6 separate regions of the Homo sapiens genome follow, and regions 2, 3, 4, 5 and 6 are each linked to region 1. Evidence: promoter capture Hi-C in 16 types of primary human blood cells and fetal thymus (Javierre and others, 2016). All regions are on one chromosome and are shown on one strand. Each heading gives the region's core, a stretch centred on a gene start or on the middle of the fragment in contact. The rest is flanking DNA. Distances are from core to core; before and after follow the strand shown. Region 1 holds the start of PWP1 (PWP1 homolog, endonuclein). Region 2 holds the start of ACACB (acetyl-CoA carboxylase beta). Region 3 overlaps UNG (uracil DNA glycosylase). Region 4 has its middle 5.1 kb from the start of TCP11L2. Region 5 overlaps POLR3B (RNA polymerase III subunit B). Region 6 holds the start of CORO1C (coronin 1C).

Region 1 (4,276 bases), core at 1,777-4,276:
AGTACCCCGGGAGCTCCTGCCCCAACTCAGAAGGGGCAGGGCTCCCACTGGCTCCATGGAGCATGCAGCCCCAGCTGTGCCTCCTTGCTGTAGCTGGCATGATGGCAGCAGCTGCTGCCATCACTGGGACCACAGGTGCATACCACCATGCCCAGCTAATTTTTTTATTTGTAGAGACAAGATTTTGCTGTTTTCCAGGTCGGCCTCAAACTCCTGGGCTCAAGTGATCCTCCTGCCTTGGCCTCCCAAAGTGCTGGCCTCTCAAAGGAGGGCAAAGTGGATTTAGGCCGAGCCACGGAGCCCACCCTAAATCTGTCTCTTTTTAAAAATGGCAAATTTTGTGTTATGTATATTTTACTATAATAAAAATTATGGAAGGATTTTTTCTTTTAAAGTTAGTGGTTAGAAACAATCTTTTACTAAGCTCACAAATTCTGGGGGTCAGAAATTTGGGCAGGGCACAGTGGGGATGTCTTGTCTCTGTTCCATGATGGCTGGGTCTCAGCTGAGCAAGCTCAAACGCTGGGAGTGAATCAATGTCTGGGAGCTGGATTCACCTAAAGGCACTTTCATTTACAGGTCTGGGTTAACTCAAAAACTACAACTGTCTACTGGAGTACCACATGTGGTCTCTCCATGTGGTTTGGTTTCCTAACAGCATAGTGGACTCAGGGTAGCTGATATGGTTTGGGATCTGTGTCCTTACCCAAATCTCACCTTGAATTGTCATAATCCCCATGTGTTATAGGAGGGACCCAGTGAGAGGTAATTGAATCATACGGGCGGCGTTTTCCTGTGCTTTTCTCATGATAATAAGTCTCATGAGATCTGATGGTTTTATTAATTAATTAATTTATTTTTATTTATTTTTATTTTTTGAGACAGAGTCTTGATCTGTTGCCCGGGCTGGAGTGCAGCAGTGCGATTTCGGCTTACTGCAACCTCCGCCTCCTGGGTTCAGGTGATTCTCCTGCCTCAGCCTCCCAAGTAGCTGAGACTACAGGTATGCACCACCATGCCCGGCTAAGTTTTATATTTTTAGTAGAGACGGGGTTTCACTACGTTGGCCAGGCTTGTCTAGAACTCCTGACCTTGTAATCCAACTGCCTCGGCCTCCCAAAGTGCTGGGATTACAGGCATGAGCCACTGCACCCAGCTGAGATCTGATAGTTTTATAAAGGGGAGTTCCCCTGCACATGCTCTCTTCTTGCCTGCTGCCATGTAAGACATGCCTTTCTTCTCTTTTGCCTTCTGCAGTGATTGTGAGGCTTCCCCAGCCAACTGAAACTGTGAGTCCATTAAACCTCTTTTTCTTTATAAATTATCATGTCTTGGGTATGTCTTTATTAGCAGTGTGAGAACAGACTACCACAGTAGCCAAACTTTATATGGTGGCTCAGGGCTCCAAACATTAGTGTTCTACTGGTGGGCAGTGGGGGAGTGGGTGGGGGGTGTGGAAGTGGAGAAGTGGGTGTGGTGGTGGGGAAGCAAAACCTGCATCCTATTTATGACTTAACCTTGGAAACATCATTTCTGTCATACTTTATTGGCCAAAGCAGACCTACAACTACCCAGATTCAAGTTGGTGGGGGCGGGGGGGGGTGCTTTGATGGAGGAATATCAAGATCACGTTGCAGACAAACATGTGTGAAGGACTCTATTGTTGCAGCCATCCTTGAAAAATATTATCTGCCATATGGTCTTTCTAAAATGGGTTAAAAGCAAAGAAACCACAGAAGAATCATCTTACAGAAACAGAGCAGGGGGAGAAGTCTTAATGGACAAATAATCTGCCTACACAAACAATGAGCAATTTACTTCTGGGAGGATCTCTCCTCAGGCAGGGAGATTGCCAAGCGCATTAGGCTGAGTAGAGTTGGTGACAGAACTCATAGTTGTATCAGCTCCTCTGTGTGTGATCTGAGTAGGAAAGTATTTGACTACTGGGGACTCTAGCTTCATCTTTAAAACAAAGTGTTGTGAGAACCAAGTAAAATACTGTATAGAAAGATAAATGTGTTGCAAAAAGGTCCCCGAATAGAGCCCACAGGTGGACACCCCCCGTTTGACAATGCCACTGGGAAAGACCATGTGTACTGCCAGTTTATCCTTGCCACTGTTTCCCCATAGCAGCCACCTTCCTGTTTCTTTTGCTTGCCTCTCTCAGAGGTAGATGCATTGAGGGTAAATGACCAGGACAGGGCCACACAGCCAAGAGATCAAAACCCAGATTTTTCTGGGATGCTAGTTTGAGATTTTCCATTCTACAAACGTCCAGCCACTCACGAGTTCTAACAGATGACTGATCTTAGCTGAGAAGCATGACATAGATACAAGGGAGTCACACTGCCCGGGTTCATATCCCAGCTGCACCGCTTACTAGCAGTGTGACCTTTGGAAGGATCGCTGTTTTCCCAGGTGTAAAACGGAAATAAGACCTCCCACAAAGGGGTAAGTAATCACGTGATACGGCACTCAAAACAGCGCCTTCAACATAAGTAAGCCCTTTGTGTTTGCCAAGACTAAATCACTACTGCATAGTTAGTATATAATTGGTGCTAAATGTTTTTTTCTCACTTTTTTTTTTGGTGCTAAATGTTTTAAGGTGAGAAAGTAACATTTAGGGATGTAATGAGATGTAATGGTGGGATCTCCGTGAAACGACAAATTCATTTTGGAGAAAGCTTTTTAAAAAACGCAAACCACAAACCTCTGCCATTTGTCAGCTTGAAGTCTACGGAACTGCAAGCAAAATAAAGATTGGTGAAACTTTGCTTCTGACTGACCCCTACAGTCCCAAATATTTTCTTGGCCTTTACAAAGCCCGCAGGCATCGTCACATGCAGTCCTGAAAAGCCTTTTCTCTATACTTCACACAGCCCAGACCAGCCCACGTGGATTCCTCGCCCGGCTGCTTCCGCTTCCATTTTGTCCCCTCCTATTTCTCATTCGGCGCCTCAGAATGACGTCTGAAATGAGCGCCGACGCTGCCCAAACAGGAGCCTGCGCATGCGCTCTGCCCTGGCAGCGGCCCTGTGCAGATCCCTGAGCGTGTGGCAGCAGTGCGGTCGTGGTCCCTCCCTATGCAGCCTGGTTTCTAGCGTGACACGCCCTTGACTTGAGGACCATGAACCGCAGCCGCCAGGTGACGTGCGTGGCCTGGGTCCGCTGCGGCGTGGCCAAAGAGACACCAGACAAGGTGAGGCCTGGTCGCTGGGAGACAAGGGGAGCAGCGTCTTTACGGCACTGGGGGTCCGCCCAGCTGGGGGAACGTGGACCCGGAACTCGGGGCGTTGGCTGGTGCGACTGGCTGGGGTGAGGGCGGCTTTGCCCGGATTGTCGCGACTAGAGCTGCAGTTCAGAAGGTCTGGTTCGCCTGAGCCTGGAGAGTCAAGGGCCGCGCCTTCTCACTGTTCCCACCCTCAAGCCCAACCCCACTCCCAAATTCGCACGCACATGGACTTAGCGGGCCGGAAAGGGGTGGGCTGCTGTTTTTGGTGGGTAATACCCCAAAAGGCTTTTTGACAACACCACTAGCTTCACTAGCACCCAAGTGCATTTTCAAGCATAACTGGGAAGAGAGCATGAAAACTCCACTTTCCACTCTTGTGCTCCGTGTCTGAAGGAGTGAGGATGAATGTGGTGTAGAAAAACTGGTGTGGAGGCTAAGATGTCGTGAGGCTGGGAGATGAATAGGGAATTTCTTGCAGTAATCCAAGTGAGATGTTGATGGTAGCAGGGAGGATGAGAGGTAAATGTCTAACACATGAAAAACCTACAAGAGTTGGAGACTGAGACTGTAGCAGAGGTGACGATTACTTAAGTAATTTCCTCATTGGATACTAAGTGCTTTCTGTAGGCCAGGCATTGTTCAGGGTCCTGGGATAGGCATGAACAAAATAGAAAAAGTCCCGCCGGGCGCGGTGGCTCACGCCTGTAATCCCAGCACTTTGGGAGGCCAAGGCGGGCGGATCACGAGGTCAGGAGATCGAGAGCATCCTGGCTAACACGGTGAAACCCCGTCTCTACTAAAAATACAAAAAATTAGCCGGGTGTGGTGGTGGATGCCTGTAGTCCCAGCTACTCGGGAGGCTGAGGCAGGAGAATGGCGTGAACCCGGGAGGCGGAGCTTGCAGTGAGCCGAGATCGCACAGCTGCACTCCAGCCTGGGCGGGCAACAGAGTGAGACTCCGTCTCAAAAAAAAAAAAAAAAAAAAAAAAAAAAAAATAGAAAAAGACCCTGCCTTTATGGAGTCGACATGTGCACATATAGTAT
Region 2 (4,276 bases), core at 614-3,113, 1.4 Mb after region 1:
TGCCTGTAGTTCTAGCTACTTGGGAAGCTGAGGCAGGAGGATCATTTGAGCCCAGGAGTTCGAGGCTGCAGTGAGCTATGATCATGCCACTGCACTCCATCCAGCCTGGGCAACAGAGCAAGATCCTATTTCTAAAACAAAACAAAACAAAACAAAAAATGTAACTTGATACCTGTGACTTTCTGAAACTAACAGCTGTTTGAAGAAATATATTTCTATTACCGTTCTTGTGTTTGATGGAAAGAGTTTATGAATAACTTTGGTTTCAAGCCTTCCAATTATATTCTGGAAAATACCTGTGTCTTAAAGAGATAGTGTCTAGGGAGAACTGAATCACTGCAGAGTTCTTCACCTGTATGTGTGGGTATGTCTAGTCTTTTTGCAAGTAATGAATTTCATTAGAAAGATATTAAGTGCTTGTCATGAGCAAGCCCCTGTGCCAGAAACTCAATATAAATCATTTCATTTTCTCACCCATATGGTGAAGTAGTTGATGAGGACACTGAAGCTCAGCCATTTGCTCAAAGTCATGGCTAATGGAGGGAGGATTCAAACCCACATCAGCTTGATTTCAAAGCCTAATAGTCCTGCCACTGTCAACACCCTGCCTAGATCATGATTATTTGGAATCACTGGGAAAGAATTTTTTTTTCATGAAGTTAGAAGCCTAAGAATTTTTTTCAATGGAATTTTATAAAAATGTCCTTGAATCACAGATGGCTCTCCCTGGAAACATAGGTTTGTTTGAGAGTCACCTCTTTTATTGTCTTAATAAATAGACTAAGAGCCATCACAAGGGCTACTGTGGCTAGAGAACATATGACTCGGGCCGGGCATTGTGCAGGCATTTGACCTGCATTCCTTCACCCCGGTTCCTGTAACATGTACCTGGTGCTGTGGGGTTACAGCTGATAATGCTGAGGTTTCCAGAGCACATGCTTCCAAGTCCAGTGGAGAAAATCCCAAGAAGTCCAATATTCAATGACTGTTCCTTATTGCAAAATAAGCCCAGAAACAAAGTAGCTGTGAACAGGCTGCACCAGCCCCAGCAGCAATTTCCATTTAAACCATTTTGCACAGATCCCGTGCTCAGCGCTCTCGCCAGTTTCTCCACTTGCTGTTTAGTAAGGCCATCATTGTTGGCAGGAAGTGGGTTCCACCTTCCCTGTTGCCTGAGCACAATGTGCTCCTATGTGGTCTCCACTTTCCTGCTGCCTAGTTGGCTGGGCTTCTCCAGCTGGGCCTTGGAGGCGACCTTTGTCCCACATGCCAGCCCTCCCCACGTTGCAGAACACTATGTAACTGCAGCGTGTGCTGAATTTCCTCTTCTGTGCTCAACCCTAGCAAGAGCCAGTCAACCCTGAATGAGAATGTGGCAATGGAGCTGTTTTTTTCTTTTATCCCCAAGTCACAAGAAATTGGAAACATTCCATTAAGTGGCGTGATTTGAGAGGGTTTCGCCAAATCTTTTCAGGGGAGAGAAGCCAGGTGACCTGATAGCGATCACCTTCCCATTCACGGTTTTCAATGGGGGCTTGTTTCTCAAATGACCAACACCTGTAGGCAGTTAATTTTCAGCATGTCACAGGAGGGCCCAGATGACTTTCTGCCTACTGCTTACGACAACATGGACTTTAGATGCCTCATGGCTTCAACAGCTAAGAATTATGAAATAAAGCGAGTTATGGGATTAAAAGGCAGATAGCAGAACTCTCCCAGGAGTAGCCAGGGCTGCACAAGTGGTTTGACGTGGGATCTTTCTCATCTTTGCCCCGGGTTGTTGCTGCTTTGAAGGTTAAGTGCTCCAGGGATATTTTTAAACAGCAGGGGCTGATTAATCTAAAAGTGACATTTGCAGTCCCCAGAGTAAGCAGCTAGCAGGCTTAGATTCAGGCCCTCAGCAAACAAGGAACCTGGAAAATGTAACCCTGAATGCACGGTGGGGAGGACATGGCAAGAGAAAAGCGGCAGGAATAAAGTGGTAAGTCAGCTCGCCCCTCCCCGGGGTCCGGACCATTCTGCCAACGTCCAGGTAAATTCGAACCCAATGTATAGTGAGAGCAGACCCTGTCTGAAGGCATGCACTTGGGGTCCCCGGGGAAAAACGACTCCCGTCATGTTTGAAGGAAGCTAATCAGAAGAGCTCGAAATGTAACGCAGATGAAAGAGAAGGGCCTTTCTTTGCTTCTATAAATGGTGGTGTGGATCCCTGGACATGCTCCCATATAAGTTCCACAACGTTTTATAAACAATTCTGTTTTTTGCCTCCAAAGCTACTGTCTTAAGGAATAGTATTCTGTTTCTGTTTCCTCAAATGGTTGTTCTTTTTTTTTTTTTTTTTTTTTTTAAAGCAGACTAAGGCTGGGCACGGTGGCTCATGCCACCCAGCACCTTGGGAGGCAGAGGCAGGTGGATCACTTGAGGTCAGGAGTTCGAGACCAGCCTGGCCAACATGGCGAAACCCCATCTGTACTAAACACATAAAAATTAGCCAGATGTGGTGATGGGCACCTGTAATCCCAGCTACTTGGGAGGCTGAGGCAGGAGAATCGCTTGAACCCAGGAGGTGGGGGTTGCAGTGAGCTAAAATTGCGCCACTGCATTCCAGCCTGACTGACAGAGCAAGACTCTGTCTCAAAAAAAAAAAAAAAGAAAAGAAAAAGAAAAAAAGGAGACTAAGAGTAAAGCGTTTGTAGTGGTCCTATATCCTATATTTCTAGGAAGACATGACTTTCTTTCAATGTTGAAAAAATGCATTCCAAAATAATATGCAAGTTAAAAAGTCACTCAGCACCGTGCAAAAGTCTCCTTGCTGTTATTCCTGTCTAACCCTCCTCCTCCAGGTAGCCACTGTGCACATTTTGGTATAAACCCCCCAGACCTTTTATTCTGTACACTCACACTGTACACAACTCTCTCCCTCATGTCTATTGTGATTACTTTTATTTTTTAATATCAATGGGCATCCATATAGGTTGGGTGACCAACCATCCCACTTTGCCCAGGACCGGGGAATTCCCGGGACATGGGACTTGCAATTTAAAAACTGAAAGGTGAAGATATTATTATTATCATTATTATTTGAGATGGAGTGCTCACTGCAAGCTCCGCCTCCTGGGTTCACGCCATTCTCCTGCCTCAGCCTCCCAAGTAGCTGGGACTACAGGCACCCACTACCACGCCCGGCTAATTTTTTTTGTATTTTTAGTAGAGACAGGGTTTCACTGTGTTAGCCAGGATGGTCTCGATCTCCTGACCTCAAGTGATCCGCCCGCCTCGGCCTCCCAGAGTGCTGGGATTACAGGCATGAGCCACCGCGCCTGGCCAAAGATATCATTTTATAAATTGCATGTTTCTGCTAATAGTGACATGGAGTTCTTTACAAGATTTCTTTTTATGACTTCTCCAAGTTTTAAGTGGAAAGACCCAGCCAATCCTAATTCATGTGATTTAGAGATGAAAATATCTCTAATCTGTAACTTTCTTTCAGAAGCTCTTAAGAGTTTTATTTGCTCCTGCTCAGGTGTTGTGTAAACTCGCTCATACTTTCAACACCTTTAGGTCTGAGACAGAAATTTGAGTATTACATTACATGAGATACCCAGTCTTCATGGGGAAATAAACATTTTAATCTTTTGAAATGGAGGTTTCCTTGAAGTCTTATCCCAGTAGAAACTTTGACCTTGTTCTTTTTTTTTTTTTTTTTTTGAGACAGAGTCTCGTCCTGTCACCCAGGCTGGAGTGCGATGGCACAATCTCAGCTCACTGCAACCCCTGCCTCCCAGGTTCAAGCAATTCCTCAGTCTCAGTCTCCCGAGTAGCTGGGATTGCAGGCAAGCACTACCACGCCCAGCTAATTTTTGTATTTTTAGTAGAGATGGGGTTTTGCCATGTTGGCCAGGCTGGTCTCGAACTCCTGACCTCAAGTGATCTGCTCACCTTGGCCTCCCAAAGTGCTGGGATTACGGGCATGAGCCACTGCACCCGGCCTGGAATACCTTGTTCTCATGCTTCCTCTGAATTTGTGATTCAGTGACTTGTTACTTCAAAGTAGAGTTCACCTGTACCCAGGGAAACCAGGAAACAGAGTTAGAAATATTGCATTTGATCGGAAAAATGTATGCACATTTCACATCCTATCCTAATAGATCTCTCTGTTTGCAGTGATAATAGTAAATTTATGACCGTAGAGTAAGGTGATTTTCTAGGAAGATAGACCGTGTTCATTTATTCCAGGAATCCAGGGATCCTTGTATCAGAGAATCCAGGCTGGGCA
Region 3 (4,276 bases), core at 572-3,071, 1.4 Mb after region 1:
TAAAGGGCCAGCCAATGGGAACGCGTCTCGGGGCCCATGGCGCCAATCCGCGCGCCGCAGGCCCTCCTGGCTCGGTGCGCTGTCCAATCAGAGGGGAGAGGGGGCGGGACCCAGAGGGAGGTTTTTTGCCGCGAAAAGACCACGTGGGGACGCGGTGGGGCGGGTCTGGCGGGGGCGGGGCACCTCTGTGCAGGGTTCCCAGTCACCGCGACGCTCCTCGGGAAGCCATAGGGCGCCTCCCAGCCCGTCTCCCCGCTCCAGTTTAGAACCTAATTCCCAATTCCCGGACCGGGCCCAGCCCTGGGCTCTTACTGTCCGCTTTTGCTGGGACCTGTTCCACAAATGGGCGTCTTCTGCCTTGGGCCGTGGGGGTTGGGCCGGAAGCTGCGGACGCCTGGGAAGGGGCCGCTGCAGCTCTTGAGCCGCCTCTGCGGGGACCACTTGCAGGCCATCCCAGCCAAGAAGGCCCCGGCTGGGCAGGAGGAGCCTGGGACGCCGCCCTCCTCGCCGCTGAGTGCCGAGCAGTTGGACCGGATCCAGAGGAACAAGGCCGCGGCCCTGCTCAGACTCGCGGCCCGCAACGTGCCCGTGGGCTTTGGAGAGAGCTGGAAGAAGCACCTCAGCGGGGAGTTCGGGAAACCGTATTTTATCAAGGTAAATATGGAAATGCACCTTCCATAAGGGTAAATGTGGAGGCTGCCGGCCCTTTTGTCTTGTTAGTGTAGCCGGCCAAGTTCATGTTTCCGTAGGCTTAGGTTGTACCCCCTTCAACCTCCTTTACTCACAAAGGGGGTAAAAGAAAGCCATGATGTTTCACTCTGCAGCTTTATATTGGTTAAAGTTGTTAACGACCCGCGAGATGATATCATGGATTCATTTAAGTCACATAGTCTATTGTCCAGGAAAGGCTGGCGTAGTAAAATCACCAACCATCCTGAATGAAACCTGGCTTGAGCTTTAAAAAGCCGAGAGGAGTGGCACTGTCAGGACCCAGCCCAGAGAAAGAGGCAAGGAATTGACCTGATTGAACCACTTAGGTGGGGGGGCAGGCACTGTTTTTGTTTGTTGTTTTTTAAAAGAATTTGGACATAACATGACAAAGAACTAATGATGTTCCAAATAACTTGCACTAGAAGCTTTCTTATTGAATTCTTATGGTTTCCAATGAGAATCTGATTTTAAGTCTAGTTTATCTTTAAATCAGCTAATGGGATTTGTTGCAGAAGAAAGAAAGCATTACACTGTTTATCCACCCCCACACCAAGTCTTCACCTGGACCCAGATGTGTGACATAAAAGATGTAAGTACAACTTGTTGATAATTTTTATTGGGGAGAAGGAGTCAAATAGTATTTTTAAATTAGGGACACTGGAGTTAAGCCACAGTCCATCATTCAGTAGTAAATAAAACACTGAAATCCCGAGGTTTGGCTGACTGTATTTCAGCCTGTATTTACTCTTTTTAATGTTTACCACGTGGTATTTATGTGGCAAAAAGGAAAACTATGTACATCCTGTGCTCTTATTTCTTGTATTTTTTTTAAATCCTGAAACTAACCTCCCGCGGTGTCAGATGTTATGGTGGTGGTGAAGTTCAAACTGACACACAAAGCAGTTAAATCTTTTGCAGCTTGTTATAGTCAACCCCACCTTGACCTGACCACACTGCCTTATAGTTAGCACTTTCAAGCTCTTGACTTCTGGCCTGAACAGTTTTGTGGTTCTGTTATCAGATCCCTTTGCTTTAGTTTGTCTTATATAACAGTTGCTGGTTGGCGGCTCTCATCCATCTTGTGTTCAGAAGTTCGTGGGGCTGGGCACGGTGGCTCATGCCTGTAATCCCAGCACTTTCGGAGGCCAAAGTGGGAGGATCATTTGAGGTCAGGAGTTCAAGACCAATGAAACCTGGTCTCTCCTAAAATACAAAAATTAGCCGGGCATGGTGGCGCACGCCTGTAATTCCAGCTACTTGGGAGGCTGAGGTGGGAGAATCGCATGAGCCCAGGAGGCGGAGGTTGCAGTGAGCTGAGATCACACCACTTCACTCCAGCGTGGGCGACAGAGCCAGACCCTGTCTCAAAACAAAAAAAAAACCGTGGCTTCTCACTGTTGAACTATGAAAGCAGAGCAACCCTCTTTAAATAGGGCCACGTCCTACCTCTCAGCCTTACCTCCACCTCCCACTCTCCCACTCCAGAGTTGGACAGTGTGGCAAACCCCTCCCCACTTCTGTCTCTTAAAAATCAAGTAGATGCCTCTGTGGCACCTCCTTGAATTGAAGTCCGTTGCCTGCCACCTCTGTGATCCAGTTTTCCTCTGAGCTGCTACGATGCATTTAGCACCTGCTGACACTGGACTTTTAGGTTTCTTACCCGTTTTCCTCCCCCGTTTTGTAAACTGGGGCAAGAATCTTGTGATTTAATGAATATCTGTGAAATGACATAGAAGTGAAATAGGTGAATAAATCATCTTGATAAGGCAGCCACACCTAATACTTAGAAAATCTCGTAAGCTTAATTTTAGAGTAAGAATTTAGAATCTAGCTCTTTGGTTTTGAAGCTAAATTAAATCCTATTAAGATCAATACTAATTTGCTTCTTGTTTGAATGCCCTATTCTGAATACCAGTAATCAGTATAAACAGGGAATATTAAAAGGAATATTTTGAGGGAATGCTCAAAAACCAGTTTCAAACCTATGAGGATCAGATGGGCCAGCAGGGCTTCTTGACAGACCAGCATTGGGAGAGTTGTTTCACAAGAGAATATGTTGGCATGGTGTGAACACCAAGGGGAGGGACAAGAGGTCCCCAAAAGCCTCCTGGTCATGGAACATCTGGAGCTGGATTCTGAAAGATAGAGTATGTCAGCTGTGGAGGAAGATTCTAAGAACGCAATGGCAGAAGCTTGAGAATGAAGACTAGGTGGGTGGGCCCTGGATGGGAAGGACGAGGCGGCCTATGTTTCAACACCTCCCGTGACAGGAACTTCATTTCATTTCATTGTCTCTTGCCACCTACTCCCATGGCCCTTTTGATCTGACCTCATTCTCTTCTGGCTCCACCTGTTAGAGGATATAGGGGAGCAGACACCCTCATATGCTGCTGGTGGGAAATCTGAATTGCTTTTTTTTTTTTTTTTTTTTTTTTTTTTTGAGATGGAGTGCAGTGGTGCAATCTCGGCTTACTGCAACCTCCACCCCCTGGGTTCAAGCGATTCTCCTGCCTCAGCCTCCCGAGTAGCTGGGACTACAGGTGTGCGCCACCACACCCAGCTAATTTTTGTATTTTTAGTAGAGATGGGGTTTCACCATGTTGGCCAGATGGTTTCGATATCTTGACCTCGTGATCTGCCTACCTCGGCCTCCCAAAGTGCTGGGATTACAGGCGTGAGCCACCATGCCAGGCCCTAAATTGCTTTAATTCATCGAAAAGTAACTGGGGGCTAGGCACAGTGGCTCATGCCTGTAATCCCAGCATTTTGGGAGGCCGAGGAGGGAGGATCCCTTGATCTCAGGAATTTGAGACCAGCCTCAGCAACATAAGGGAGGCCGTGTGTCTACAAAAAGTAAAAAAAAAATTAGGTGGGCATAGTGGTGCACTCCTGTGGGCCCAGCTACTCTGGAGGCTCAGGTGGGAGGACCACTTGAGCCCAGGAGGGCGAGGCTGCCATGAGCTGTGATGGCACCACTGCACATCAGCCTGAGCAACACAGCAAAACCGTGTCTCAAAAAATTAAAAAAGCAGCTAGGTACATATCTTTACAAGTTTAAAATACGCTTAGCCTTTGACCAGCAACTCTGCTATTAGCAATCTATGCCATAGAAGTGTTTTATTTGTTTTGTTTATGTTTGTTTGAGGCAGGGTCTGTGCTGCTTACATTACAGTATTGTTTAATTCCTGACCCCTGGTGGTTCACAGGTGAAGGTTGTCATCCTGGGACAGGATCCATATCATGGACCTAATCAAGCTCACGGGCTCTGCTTTAGTGTTCAAAGGCCTGTTCCGCCTCCGCCCAGGTACAGTTGCTTTACAGGTGACTGCAGTCCAGACATGATTCCTTTCAGATGTGTACTTAGCTTATTACAAGTGGGACTATCTGGGGCACTGTTCACTAGCCTTGGAGGAGGATTTCTCGGCCTCAGCACCATTGACATTTGGGGCTGAGTCATTCTTTGTTGTGGAGGAGGAGAGGAGTCCTGTGCTATTGCAGGATCTTGTGCCACATCCCTGGCCTCTACCACTGGAAACCAGGAGCAACCCCCAGCTCGTGATAATGA
Region 4 (4,276 bases), core at 631-3,130, 1.4 Mb before region 1:
GGTGGAACTTGGCTGTCAACCCTCTGGTCTGTCTGAACCCAAAGCCCACCCTCTTTCCACCATACCACATTTCCTCATTATATACAATTATTTTGTACCTCAGTTGATTAATTCTTTGAAAATTTTGATCTACGTAATGCTTGTAACTTTTAAAAAGTCATTTTTTTAAACGTCCACATATCATCACAGAGGTCTTCCTTTAAATAAAGAATTCAGCTTCAGCATTAAAATTAAATTTATTTGTATAATTATGTTACACCGAGCATTTTTTTTTTTTTAGACTGAGTTTCACTCTGCCACCCAGGCAAAAGTGTAGTGGCGTGATCTTGGCTCACTGCAGCCTCTGCCTCCTGGGTTCAAGTGATTCTCCTGCCTCAGCCTCCCAAATAGCTGGGACTACAGGAGTGCGCCACCACGCCCAGCTAATTTTTTGTATTTTTAATAGAGACGGGGTTTCACCATGCTGACCAGGCTGGTCTTGAACTCCTGACCTCAGTTGATCCGCCCACCTCGGCCTCCCAAAATGCTGGGATTACAGGAATGAGCCACTGCGCCCAGCCTATACTGAGCTTTGTGGGAATTTACTGATAATATACATGCAGATGTACATGTAACATAAACAATGGCATGGCTTGGGATCCCTCTGAGGGAATTGGCCAGAAATGTTTCGTGTGTGCATGTGTGCGGGTGAATATATATCTATGTAAACAGCTTCATATTTTTGTATAAAGCTGCATTCCATTCTTGCTTTCTAGAAGGCACAGCCACCCCAGTATCTGGTCCAGGCACCCTTCTAGAGTAATGGAATGTGATTATAAATACTTTGGGCACTTAGTTGGTACAGAGCTGGTATGCTTGTTGATATGTTGTTATGGAAATTAGATAATTATGCCAATAGGTAATACTTTGCATGTGACACTGCACGTGTATATGTGTGTATTTGCGGAGAGAAGCCATGAAGTGAGTTCTTCTGGTTTCTATTCTTGACCTGCCAACTGAGTGAGTCACTGCTGAGTATCCCTTTAGTCAACATAAACCCTTAGTGCCCTAGTATATGACCTTCCTCTAGAATGCCCAGGAACTCAGGTAAAAGCTACTATTCAGGCATTTGAATGTTCAGAGCTCTCAATTTTTTTGTCTTCAAAATGTACGGCTGGGTGTGGTGGCTGATGCCTGTAATCCCAGCACTTTGGGAGGCCAAGGGGTGGATCACTTGAGGTCAGGAGTTCGAGACCAGCCTAGCCAACATGGTGAAACCCCATCTCTACTAAAAATACAAAATATTAGCCAGGCGTGATGGCACACATCTGTGATTCCAGCTACTCAGGAGGCTAAGGCAAAAGAATCGCCTGAGCTCGGGAGGCAGAGGTTGCAGTGAGCCGAGATCATGCCACTGAACTCCAATCTGGCTGACAGAGTGAGACTCTGTCTCAAAAAAAAGAAACAACAAAAAAAAGGTAGTATAATTATTAAAGTCCCATATAACTTTGAGAAAGGACATTTGTCCAGTTTATCATCAAAGAAAGGGAAGGTTTTAGAGGTCAGAGTTTGGGGCAAAAAACATGTTTAAAATGAAAGCAAACTCCATGCACTTTGGCTATCGAAGAATAGGGCTTGAGGAGAAGAACTTAAAAAGTAAAGATCAATATTCCCCCACCCAGCATTAATAATTTTGACATATCATAGTGAGGGACTTTTTGTAAATCTATTCTTTCATATATTTTACATGAAAAGCTCCATTTGTTGTCATGGCTTTCTTAAATATGAATAAAAAAGAGATGGGAAATTTGCTTATTGTGCAGTATCAATAGCCTATCTTCACTAAGGTATATTTAGGAGGACATACAATAATAAGAATAGTTGCATTGTATGGCAGTGTGAAATAGACTAGTAATATATGAATGACATTCTCATTGTAAAAGAAATAAGCTGCTTGAATGTGTACGGAATAAACCAGGAACTAACTTGCCTAAATAGCCTTCTAAACGGTTGAGATTCTTTTTAGTCCATTTCTATGTATTTCATATACACACAATGCATATGTACTGTCTCTAGTGTAAGCTCTCTCTAGCATAAATCGTGTCACCCCATAATCAGTGTTCTGTAACTCATGTTTTCATGTTGAATCGTGTACCTAAAAAGTCACATTTCTTAATCCTTCCTTTATGTTTTCTGGAGATTGCATCTTATTTTAGTAGCTCTTCCTCATGCCCATTTGACAATTTCATTTGATTTTAAAACTGAGGGCCTGTGTTCATCCATGAACACTTTAGAAAAGCAATCATTTAGAAAATGGTTGATTGCCTGCTGGCCTGGAGATGAGCTAAAGAGAGTGACTGGCTTGGTCAGAGGTCTGAGCCATCACCTGTTTGGCCTCCCATAGGTGTTCCTTTGAGCTTCAACTCTCTTTGGCCCCTCCCACTTCCTGCCCCAAAGTTGTCTTCACTGCTGGTTCTCACTCTTTCTGCTTCCCAGGGGACAACAGTGGTGCCCAGGTAAGAGGAAGGGGCCCAGGGTGGGGTGTAGGGAGCACTAAGAATATTTGTCTTTTTAGTATGTGACAGGGTCAGGGACTGGGCAGTGCCTAAATGTGAAGGTACAGGCAATTGAAATGAGAAATAACTGTTAATTTTTTTACTAATTCAGTTCAGTGGAGTCAAAAGAAAACTGGTTTTGGTGCTTTGGAAAATTGTTCAAGCATCAATTAATAGTCAAAACTGGTCAATTATCTAAATCTACCTTATCTTCCAAATCACAGGATATAGAACAAAAAAAAATTGCCTAAAAGGTGTGGTTAATTTTTTTTAATAGACCTTATTTTTAGAGCTCACAGTAAAATTGAGTAGGAGGTATGCAGTTAATTTTTGAACATTCAGGGCCTAATTCTCTAGTTGGTGTATTAGCCAAATTCATTTTCTTCTTTTTGCTTTCTATTGTATTTTCCCCCTCACTGATTTTTGGCCCTTTCTGTAGCACCTGAAGATGGACAGGGGAGAGAAAAGAAGTGGGATTCCTTTGAAAAACATTTTTTTTAATTTAATTTTTAGTTTAAAATTTTTTTTGAGACAAAGTCTCGCTCTGTTGCCCAGGCTGGAGTGCAGTGGTGAAATCTCAGCTCACTGCAACCTCCGCCCCCCAGGTTCAAGCAATTCTCCTGCCTCAGCCTCCCAAGTAGCTGGGATTACAGGTGTGTGCCACCACGCCCAACTAATTTTTTGTATTTTTAGTAGAGATGAGGTTTTGCCATGTTGGTCAGGCTGGTCTCAAACTCCTGACCTCAAGTTATCCACCTGCCTCGGCCTCCCAAACTGCTGGGATTATAGGTGTGAACCACCATGCCCGGCCATTTTTTTTTGTGAGACCAGGTTTCACTCTTGTTGCCCAGGCCGGAGTGCAATGGTGCAATCCTGGCTCACTGCAACCTCTGCCTCCTGGGTTCAAGTGATTCTCCTGCCTCAGCCTCCCAAGTATTTGGGATTAGAGGTATGCACACCATGCCTGGCTAATTTTTTGTATTTAGTAGAGACAGGGTTTCACTATGTTGGTCAGGCTGGTCTCGAACTCATGACTTCAGGTGATCCACCCACCTCAGCCTCCCAAAGTGCTGAGATTACAGGCCTGAGCCACCATGCCCAGCCCATTTTTTTGCTTTTTGTTTTTGTTTTTTTCAATTACAATGGAGTCACATCTTACAGGAGGGGTTAGGCTCTTAAGGAAGACCATGAGGTCAAAGTGCAGTGAAAATTACTCTTGAAAATTTTTTAATGAGCCATAAGACCTGGGATACACCAAGTTTTTGTCGTTTTTTGTTTGTTTGGGGCTATTTCTTTTCTTCCAGCATTGAAACAGACATAAGTTTCTTCAAGTGAGCACTGGTTGAAATAATTGATTGGCACTTAGGGGCAGGAAGATAAGCACCTTTAACCACTAGACTCATATTCTGTGTGGGGAGATCAGGACCAGTTACATAATTTGCCAGGTCCAGTGCAAAATGAAAATGCAAGGCCCCCTTTCAAAAAGCACAGTATTAAGAATCTCAACACAACAGCAGCAATGTATTAAACCAAGCACAGGGCTCTTCCAAGGGTGGGGCCTTGTGCAACTGCCCAGACTGCACGAACATGAAGCCAGCCGTGGGAAAGAAGCTTGGAACATAATGAGAAGCTCAGAAACTCAGATAAACACAGTAAGAGAAGCCTCACAACTCCCATAGAGAGAAATAGGGGACAAGATCACTGGAAGTATTTAAATTATTCTCTTGTGTTCCTCATATTCT
Region 5 (4,276 bases), core at 962-3,461, 1.3 Mb before region 1:
CTGCCTCCCGGGTTCAAGCAATTCTCCTGCCTCAGCCTCCCAAGTAGCTGGGATTACAGGCGCCCACCATCACCGCCAGCTAATTTTTGTATTTTTAGTAGAGACGGGGTTTCACTGTGTTGGCCATGCTGGTCTCGAACTCCTGACCTCGTGATCCACCGCCTCGGCCTCCCAACGTGCTGGGATTACAAGCGTGAGCCACCGTGCCCGGCTGCAAAACTGTATTTTAACCGTGAAAAGTGAATATCAAAGAGCCAGCATTCACTGAGCACTTGCTAATGTGCCAGGTTCTGTTTAACCATAACATGCATTATGTTATTTAATCCTCTGAAATAAGTACTATTTTCACCCCCATTTTGCCAGAGAGGCCCAAAGATGTTAAGTAAATAGCCTTGCATTAGAAGCCTGGTAGTGGCTAATCTGGAATTTGGACTCTTGTCAGTCTGACTCGAGTCTTCATCCCTAACTGCTATCGGACCGCTTCTCCAGAGAGCTGAAGAAATAAGCCTGGGAGATTTCTATTTCTTATCTGAATTTACACAGCTATGAAGTGAACAGTGCTATAATTCCAGCCTTCTGATTGAAGAATAACAGTTCCTCTTCCTGCACTCTGTATCCAATCCACCATCACCTCTAAAAAGTCCTGAGTTCTTAATCTATGCATATCTGAAACTTCATTCCCACCGTTTTCCAGCCCAGAACGACTGTCCTCTCTTACTTCCTAACTGGCCTACCTGGCACCTGACTTGTCCCAATCCAGTCTGTTCCTTGCTCTGCAGCCAGAGCTGTCCGTTTAAACACACAAACATGGTTATGTTGCTCCCTTGGTTAAAGTTCTTCAATCTCTGCCTATTGCTCTTAGGGCAAAATCTAGTGTTTACCATGTTTGTAATAAATTTCCTCAGTCTGACCAGTGCTTACTTCTCTAGTCTCTTTTCCCATGGTTCCCCCCTCTCCCTCCCCTGAGATCTTTCTACTCTGCTCAGTTTCTTCTGGATCGCTCTCCCCTTCCTATTTGTAGATTAAATCCCACATATCTATAATATAACTTCCCTAGGAAGGCCTTTCCTGATTCTCCCAGAAGATGGTAGATCTCTGCTACTTGCTGCCATTTCCTTTTAAATTGAGATATTAAAATATTTACTTAAACTTTCCAACTTCAGTGTTTTCGCTGCAACTTTTTCTAGTTAGGAGCTCAGTTTTACTTGAACTGGCCATGCCTGGTGTGTATTTTTTTGTGCTTATGGTAGCACAGCAGCATGGTAGTATGGTAGAAACAACACAAGCTTTGGAGCCAATTAATCAGTTACTTGTTGAATAAATATTTGTCAGTGTTACTGAGTACTTACCTGGTGGTGTATTATTCACAGGGTTTATACAAGTTCAAAAAATGTGTTTTCTGCCTCCCAGTGTGTTATAGGCTTATAGAGAGAGACGTGTAAGCAAGTGGAATAACATGCAATAGGTACTGTGATACAAGTAGGCGAGGGGTATTTTGGTATTACAAATGGTAGCTAGGATGTGATGCCTGAACTGAGTTTGCCAGATGTGGATGAAGTGTGGTGGTGCGGAAGCATTCCAGATAGAAGGAGGAGGCGTAGGCACAAGTACAGCTGCAAGCACAGCATATGATGTATGCCTCGCTGTGGAGTTAAGACATGGTGAAGAGGGTGGGGAGGCACTGAAGAGTTGTAGAGAATGAGGTGCTCAGCTGTGCACATGAGGACATGTACACTGGCTTTAGTGCTGAGCATTGAAAGGGACGAGCAGGAAGAGTAGTAAGGAAGTATTGCCGCAGACCAGCTGAAAGATTATGAGGGCCTCAACTGGCACAGGAGCAGAGGATAAATGCGAGGAAGGTTAAAAGGAGGTCGACTCAGTAGAATTTTTGTTTTCCTGTTGATTAAGAAGAGTCAGAAAGTTAGGACTCCCGGGTATCTAATTTGGGATTGACTGGGATAAATGGTGATATTCATTGAGATTGAGAATGGAGCTGGGGGAAGATTTAATTTTGGACATACTGATCTTAAGTAGCCTCTGAGGCTGTAAGGTATCACTGCCCAGTCAATAGTTGGAGGGGACAGGCCCATACCCAGTAGCTTACTGCAACAGTGATATTCACTCACTCATTTATTTATTCAGTATTTATTGGAGTCTTTTATGTGCCAGGCACTGTGGTAACAGGATAGACAGGGTCACTGCCCTTGAAAGAGCCCACATTTGGAACTGGGGGGCTGTGGGATGAGATGGGGGAAGCTAAACAACACTTTCAAACAGTGTTGTTTGAAATCCTCCATTCCCAGCCCTACTTGAGAAAAGACATCGCCAGGGATAGAACTTTGAAGAACACCAAAATTTGCAGGGTGGCAGAGAAAAAGAGGTGTGACAAGGCCCGGCCGGAGGAAGGAAAGACATAAGAGAATGATACCACAGAGTGTTATAAGACAGTGATCGGCATGGCCAAATACTGTGGAAAGGGAATGTGAGGGGGCATCAAGGGAGGTCTTTTGAAGTAGCAGCCTTGGTGACCTCTGTCGAGCTCTTTCACTGGCAGGTAGGTCAGAGTCCTGACTATAACGGAATGAAGGAGTGGGAAGTGAGGAACAGAGAAGCTAAATATGGAGTAATTTGGGAGAGATCGTAAGCTGAAGGGCAGGGAAGAAAGTAGTCAGAGGAGCTGCTGAGTCAAGAAAGTTTTAAATTTTTTTTTTAATGGGAGGATTTGAATACTCGTTTTAAATAGAACAGGTTGAATATCAAGGACTGAACTGGGGCAAGGTTTCCAGTCTTCAGGAGAAGGTTGGCAGGATTGTGTCTGTGGCGGAAGGGTTAGCCTTAGACCAAGGAATGGATGGTCCTTCCTTTGAAGTGGGAGGAAACGAGTATAAGAAGGGGTGTAGAGAGAGGAATTTGAAGATGTGGGAGTATTAGCTCATAGGGCTGCCGTAACAAAGTAACCACAAACTAGGTGGCTTAAACAACAGAAATTTGTTTTCTCATAGTTCTGGAAGTTAGAAGTCTGAGATCAGGGTGACAACAGAGCTGGCTCCTTCTGAGGGCTATGAGAGAGGATCTGCTCTGGGCCGTCCCCTACTACAGGTGTTTGCTGGCAATCTTTGGCATCCCTTGGCTTGCAGAAGCTTCACTGAGACCTCTACCTTCATCTTCACATGGCATTGTCCCTGTGTGCATCTCTATGTCCAATTTCTCCTTTTTTATAAGGACACCAGTTGTATTGGATTAGGGCTCACCTTAATGACTCATTTTACTTAATCACCTTTGTCAAGACCCCATCTTCAAAAACAGTCACATTCTGAGATACTGGGGATTAGGACTTTAGCATATGAATTTTGAGAGGGACACAATTCAACCTATATCATTGTCATTCTTCTATTTTTAAATTTAGGTGTAATTTATATAATAAAATGTATGGATACTAGATATTCAGTTACATTGGTTTTATAGTTATGTGCTCTATGTGGACATTGCATCACCCCAGAAAGTTCCCTTATGACCCTTTTCAGTCTATCCCCCCAAGCACCTTTTGATTTCCGTCATCATAGATTAGCTTTGCCTGCCTCTCTTGTTTTTGACTATACCCAGGGGTCTGCCACCTTCCCTGGCCACTCCTCGGTCTCCTTTGCTGGAGCTGCCTCCTGCTCCTCCTCTCTGATTGTTGGATTATTCTTGGTTGGTCTCACTTTGTGGAACTCTTCTCCATCTACATTCCATAGGTGATCTCATCCATCACGTGCCTTTAATTGCCATCCACTTGTTAATCTCTTCCTAGTTTATATCTCCAGGCCACTCCATTCCCGAATTCAAGACTCATTTGTTGCCTCCTTGACATTTCCACCTGAATGTCTAATGGAGATCTCAAGCTTAACACACCCAAACCAAATTTCTAGTAGCCCCTCCACACCTAAACCTGCTATTCCTACAATGTTCCTCGCCTCCATCAATTTTAACTCTATCCCTCTAGTTGCTCAGGCAATGTAGGAAGCAATCACCATATGTGTCATCCTTCTGTAGCCCTGAGATGAGCTCTGACCAGACAGTAGTTGAGAGAGAATGGGAGGGAGAAAGAACTCCCTTTGGGTCTTGAGACCCAGCTCTCCCACCAGACTCTCTGAGCCTTATTTTCCTTTTCTCAAACTGGCAAACTTCACTTAGGAAGTGTCATGAGAATAAAATAAAGGATTGAAAAGTGCTTAAAATCTTGAGTCATCAGGAAGAGATTAAGTTATATTCTGTTTAGGAAACCTGTAGTGTATGT
Region 6 (4,276 bases), core at 992-3,491, 1.0 Mb after region 1:
ATCTAATCCTAAACTATATATAAATAAGTATAAATGCTGATTAGCACAATCTGCAGGCAAAGTAACAAAGGATCATGAAAAAGTCAATATTGTGTGCAGTTATGTTTCATCGGTATGTATCTATTAAAATTCATCAGGCTTTAATGTACCTTCCACAAGTAATCAAAATAAATATGGACAAGATAGGTTCTATATTTGTCAAAAATGTGTGCTCCTGACGTTTATACCAAATCTTTGTCCAATCCTCAGTACACACGACTAACCTCCACCACGAAACACTGCACTTCAAGACCTAAGGTACAACACAATTCTCAGTTTTATTTCACTTTTTTCCCTACTTATTTATGCGATTTCTCAGATCCAATGTTTACTATTATGCTTCATAGCCAAACATTATGACTGTGAAACATACCTCCAAACCAAAAATACTAGTTTCCTTAAATCATCTGAAATGTATAGAACCAAGTCCAAAATAGATTTTGCACATTTCTTCAGTTTTACAGGGAATGCAGAAAGTGAATTAATATTAAACAGGTATCTATTTGCCTTCACAACTGAACAGACGGTACAAAGCAACTGCTTATACTTAATCATGTTTCTGTCTATTCCAGCAGGCCCTGGTGTCAGGAGAACGTTCTGCCAGATAAGGACAATGAGATGCATTATTATATAGAGTGACTAAGAGCCCTACAAGTACTGTTTTAGAATGTAATCCCAGGCAGAAAGGCTGCGGTAAGAGGGCCTAATATTTTGTGGTAACTATTTCCAAAAGTAAATATATTCGCCACCCAGGACCAGTTTATTAAACGCGCACTACATTCAATTCTTTTCAAATGTCTTATAGGAGGGAAAAGCCTTTGTATCTTACCATGCCGGGGGAAATGAACAACTTGCAATTTGCTTCGCACTCTGAATCCCACGTTTGCAACATGTAGAGCAAGCACTTTAGACACCACAAAACAAGGGCAGCCTACATTACGGCCAAATATAGGATGTGTTTCTAAATCGTGATGCAGTAAAGCCTACGATTCCTTTTCCAGCGTTCAAAATCCTTTGAACACTCCCAAAAAAGGATGCCAGGGCCAGCGCCTCCCTCCAAGAGGAAGCCCCTTTCTTCTCAGCTCTCACCGCAGCCTGCCACTTCCCCCAACACATTCAAATCATTTGAGAGACGGAGAGCTGGGGAGCGTGCGCCGGTGGGGACAGGCGGGAGAGCTCGGTTTCTGCATTCCCACCCTCCACGTCTGACCTCATCCTCAGTCATTTCGGCGCAGCGGGGCCCCACCTGCACCTCGCTCCTTTTTACTGCGTCCCTCGCCAGCTGCCCCGCTATTAGGGAAACACACCTCTGAATCACCCAGTTCACTCGGACACCCTGGGCCCCCGATCCGACAGCCTTCCTGCTTCGTTCCTCCCCTCCCAACCCCCAGCCAGTCCCAGCCCTCTGCTCCCTTGGCCGGGCTCAGCCTCTTCCCAAGCCGCCCCCACCCACATTACTCCAGCTCCAGCTCTGCCCCGCCCCGCCTGACCCCCAACCGAGATCTGCAGGGCCCAGAGCTGGTCTCGCACCCAAAGCCAGGAAACCCGCAGGCCAGGCGGCCGCCCTCGCCCCTCCCGACGCAGGGCCCAGCTCGCCCCGGCCCCACGTGAGCCCGGCCCCTACCCGCCCCCACCCACTCGTTCCCTGGGGCGGCCCAAACCCAGTCCCCAGGCCTGGAGCCCCCGGGCTCTACGCCTCGCCCGAAGCAGCCCTTCCCTCCCAGCACCTCGCCCAAGCAGGCGATCCCTGACCCCTAAAAGCCTTCCCTGGGCAGCCTCGTCCCACCTCGGCCCGCGGCTCCGCACCCGGCCAGGAGCGTTCCGGACCTCGAAAGCCTCCTCCCCACAGGGACCCTGCTTCACGCTCCCCACGCCACCTGGTTCGGTCCCCAACTCCCTTTCCCCGAGCCCCCGACAGCAGCCCCCGGCCCTAACCCCTTGCAACCCAGCCCGTGAACCCGCGCCCCGCGCGCCCACCCAGCACTGTCCCCTCCACCTAGCCCTGCCCCTCGCCCCGCCGGCTCCTGTCAGGCGGCGCAGGCACATGCTCAGAGGACAGGTCCGCCCGCCCGACTCGCTCTCAGGCTGCCCCCGCCGGGCGCGAGCCGCTCACCCGGGCCGAGGTGCCTGAGGCGCCGCCGCCGAAGTCCCCGCTGCAAAGCCGGGCGAAGCCTCCAACCGCTGCCGCCTCCAGCCTGGCACTGAGCGCCGTGCGGGGGAGGGGCGCGGGCAGCCGCCACCGCCCCCGCCACCGCGCGTAGGCCCCGCCCCCGCGCCGCGCGGGACCCAACCAGGGCTGCCGGGCCGCTGTGCGCCACGCCCACTTCCGGAGGGGAAGCCCGCTTCCCACCCCACGTTCCACGCCTCGCTACGCCCCCTCTGGTCGCACCGAGGGATGCAGGCGGTGCCCAAGCGCACGCCCCGCTCTCCAGTCATCTGAGTGGTAGAGGGCCACGCCCACAGGCGCCTCCGAGCAACGCCCACTGCTCCTTAGACCCCGGAGCGGGGTTCTTAGAGCCCCGCCCACTGACCCGCTAGGCTCTGCAAGGCCACGTCCCCTGGCTCCTCAAAGATTCCCCCAGAGCCCCTCAATACAGGAACATTAGCTCCTCTGAGCCCCGCGCACTGCCTATCCGAGTCCTTAAACCAGCCTCCTGCTTCCCTAAGCCCGGCTCCCCTCCCACTGCTTCAGAACTCGCCCAGCGGCCTCACAAAGCCCCGCCCCGTCTTCCAGAAGCCCCGCCCAAGGACCGCAACCCTATTCCTAGCATCTCAAGCCCCGCCCACTACCCCATCTCAACGTTTAAACCCCAAGCCCCGCCCCGAATTCGCGAATCCACGCCTCTGGCTCCCGAGGCTCCGCCCTGGCTCCGTCACACCCTACCACCACCTCCCTTGAGGACTGCCGACGTTCCAGCCCTCCCTGAACCGTCCATTGTCACATTCCTAGTGCAGAGTGGCCGCCCCTGGGCTGGGCCACACCCACGTAACCCCAAAGAGGGCCCGTGATTGACCCCATTTCGCAGGTGAGGGAATGGAAACTTCAGGGTTCCTCCCTTCCTTTCCCTGGCCAGAGTCCCTTAATAACTCGGCGGCCCAGGCCTGAAAGTCGGAGCACGGGAATTTGAGCCTCAGCTCTGCGGCCGTCAGACTGTGTGACCTGGGACAGTTCTCTTACCTCTTTGGGCCTGAGTCCCCTAATCTTCAGCATGAAGAAGTTGTCCTGTTAATAGCTAAAGTCCCTTTCTGAAACACCAAGCTCTGAAATACCGAGATTTGAGGAAACAGAGCCTGGGGAACCGAACCGACTGTGGGGTAGGGCTATTTACTTCCCAAAGCAAGGCATCTTTGCCATTCACAGGGGGATTTTTTATTTTAAGCGTCAGCCTCAGAAACGTGTGTTATTTAAATCAAGCTTGACCTGAACTAAGACAGCTATCACAGCAAATTATTTATCCTCTCTAAGGGTCAGTTTCTTTATCTGTAAAATGGGGATAACAGCCCCTCCCTCACAGGGTTCCATGAGATCATATTAGCAGCCATGATCGTGGCATTACTTTTTGCCATTAAAAGGAATGGCAAAAACCGCGATTACTTTTGCACCAGGATAATAGTAATATACTTAGAAGAGTTCCTGGCTTGTGATAAACGCTCGACAGTACCTGTTGCTGCTACTGCTGGGACTCAACAAAATGAAAGGATGGGTTTTATTTTGCCTTCAAGCAGCCACTCCTAATAGGAGGAATTCAGCACCCTTCCTGCAGTAAGATTTGCCACTCACTTTATTTAAATGAGATAAACGTGATGAAACGCCTACTGCAGTGCCTGCCATATGGTGAGGCTCAAAAACAATTCACTTGTTTTTGTTTGTTTGAGACACAGTCTTGCTCTGTCGCTCAGGCTGGAGTGCAGTGGGGCAGTCCACGGCTCACTGCAGCATGGACCTCCCGGGCTCAAGTAATCCTCCCACCTCAGCCTCCCACGTAGCTGAGACTACAGGCACGCGCCACCATGCCCAGCTAAATTCTTAACATTTTTCTGTAGAGATGAAGTCCTGCTATGTTGCCCAGGCTGGCCTCAAACTCCTGAGCTCAAGAGATCCTCCCACCTCGGCCTCCCAAAGTGTTGGGATTACAGGTATGAGCCACTGTGCCCACAATTCAATAGTTTTGAACAATAAAAGTTGTTTTTTTAAAATCCACTAGTTAATAAATTAAACAGGGGCATTGATAGCAGT

The links. Contacts are between HindIII fragments. The CHiCAGO score rates a contact against its expected background, and 5 or more counts as called.
Region 2: a contact is called between the fragment with the promoter of ACACB here and the fragment with the promoter of PWP1 in region 1, in 1 of 17 cell types (total B cells). The highest score is 6.4, in total B cells.
Region 3: a contact is called between a fragment that was not itself captured here and the fragment with the promoter of PWP1 in region 1, in 4 of 17 cell types (naive CD4 T cells, fetal thymus, total CD8 T cells and 1 more). The highest score is 10.6, in naive CD4 T cells.
Region 4: a contact is called between a fragment that was not itself captured here and the fragment with the promoter of PWP1 in region 1, in 1 of 17 cell types (fetal thymus). The highest score is 5.8, in fetal thymus.
Region 5: a fragment that was not itself captured here is called in contact with the fragment with the promoter of PWP1 in region 1 in 1 of 17 cell types (total CD8 T cells); the score reaches 6.3 in total CD8 T cells.
Region 6: the fragment with the promoter of CORO1C here is called in contact with the fragment with the promoter of PWP1 in region 1 in 1 of 17 cell types (naive CD4 T cells); the score reaches 5.3 in naive CD4 T cells.

What each region holds. Positions count from the first base shown.
Region 1 is chr12:107,682,773-107,687,048 of GRCh38, forward strand. PWP1 (PWP1 homolog, endonuclein) reads left to right here and starts at 3,027. Exons shown (of 15, transcript NM_007062.3): 1 at 3,027-3,199. The coding sequence starts at 3,128. RefSeq lists a silencer at 149-406 and enhancers at 2,836-3,095, 3,316-3,365. The HindIII fragment of the contact is 3,419 bases long and covers 2,683-4,276 here.
Region 2 is chr12:109,114,724-109,118,999 of GRCh38, forward strand. ACACB (acetyl-CoA carboxylase beta) reads left to right here and starts at 1,864. Exons shown (of 53, transcript NM_001093.4): 1 at 1,864-1,981. LOC105369974 (a long non-coding RNA gene) reads right to left here. Exons shown (of 3, transcript XR_945332.3): 3 at 3,931-4,061. The HindIII fragment of the contact is 11,769 bases long and covers 1-4,276 here.
Region 3 is chr12:109,097,985-109,102,260 of GRCh38, forward strand. UNG (uracil DNA glycosylase) reads left to right here. Exons shown (of 7, transcript NM_080911.3): 2 at 448-654; 3 at 1,205-1,300; 4 at 3,918-4,015. Among named protein-coding and RNA genes, the nearest start is that of UNG, 2.5 kb to the left of the region's middle. RefSeq lists a silencer at 1-181. The HindIII fragment of the contact is 1,375 bases long and covers 1,135-2,509 here.
Region 4 is chr12:106,295,478-106,299,753 of GRCh38, forward strand. It overlaps a transcript of TCP11L2 not described here. Among named protein-coding and RNA genes, the nearest start is that of TCP11L2, 5.1 kb to the right of the region's middle. The HindIII fragment of the contact is 4,525 bases long and covers 1-4,143 here.
Region 5 is chr12:106,359,416-106,363,691 of GRCh38, forward strand. The region is part of intron 1 of POLR3B (RNA polymerase III subunit B); the gene reads left to right. Among named protein-coding and RNA genes, the nearest start is that of POLR3B, 3.8 kb to the left of the region's middle. The HindIII fragment of the contact is 1,854 bases long and covers 1,285-3,138 here.
Region 6 is chr12:108,729,277-108,733,552 of GRCh38, forward strand. It overlaps CORO1C (coronin 1C), which reads right to left and starts at 2,242. Exons shown (of 11, transcript NM_014325.4): 1 at 2,153-2,242. LOC105369969 (a long non-coding RNA gene) reads left to right here and starts at 4,133. Exons shown (of 3, transcript XR_945328.4): 1 at 4,133-4,176. RefSeq lists silencers at 1,521-1,800, 1,991-2,500 and an enhancer at 2,113-2,916. The HindIII fragment of the contact is 3,828 bases long and covers 1-3,452 here.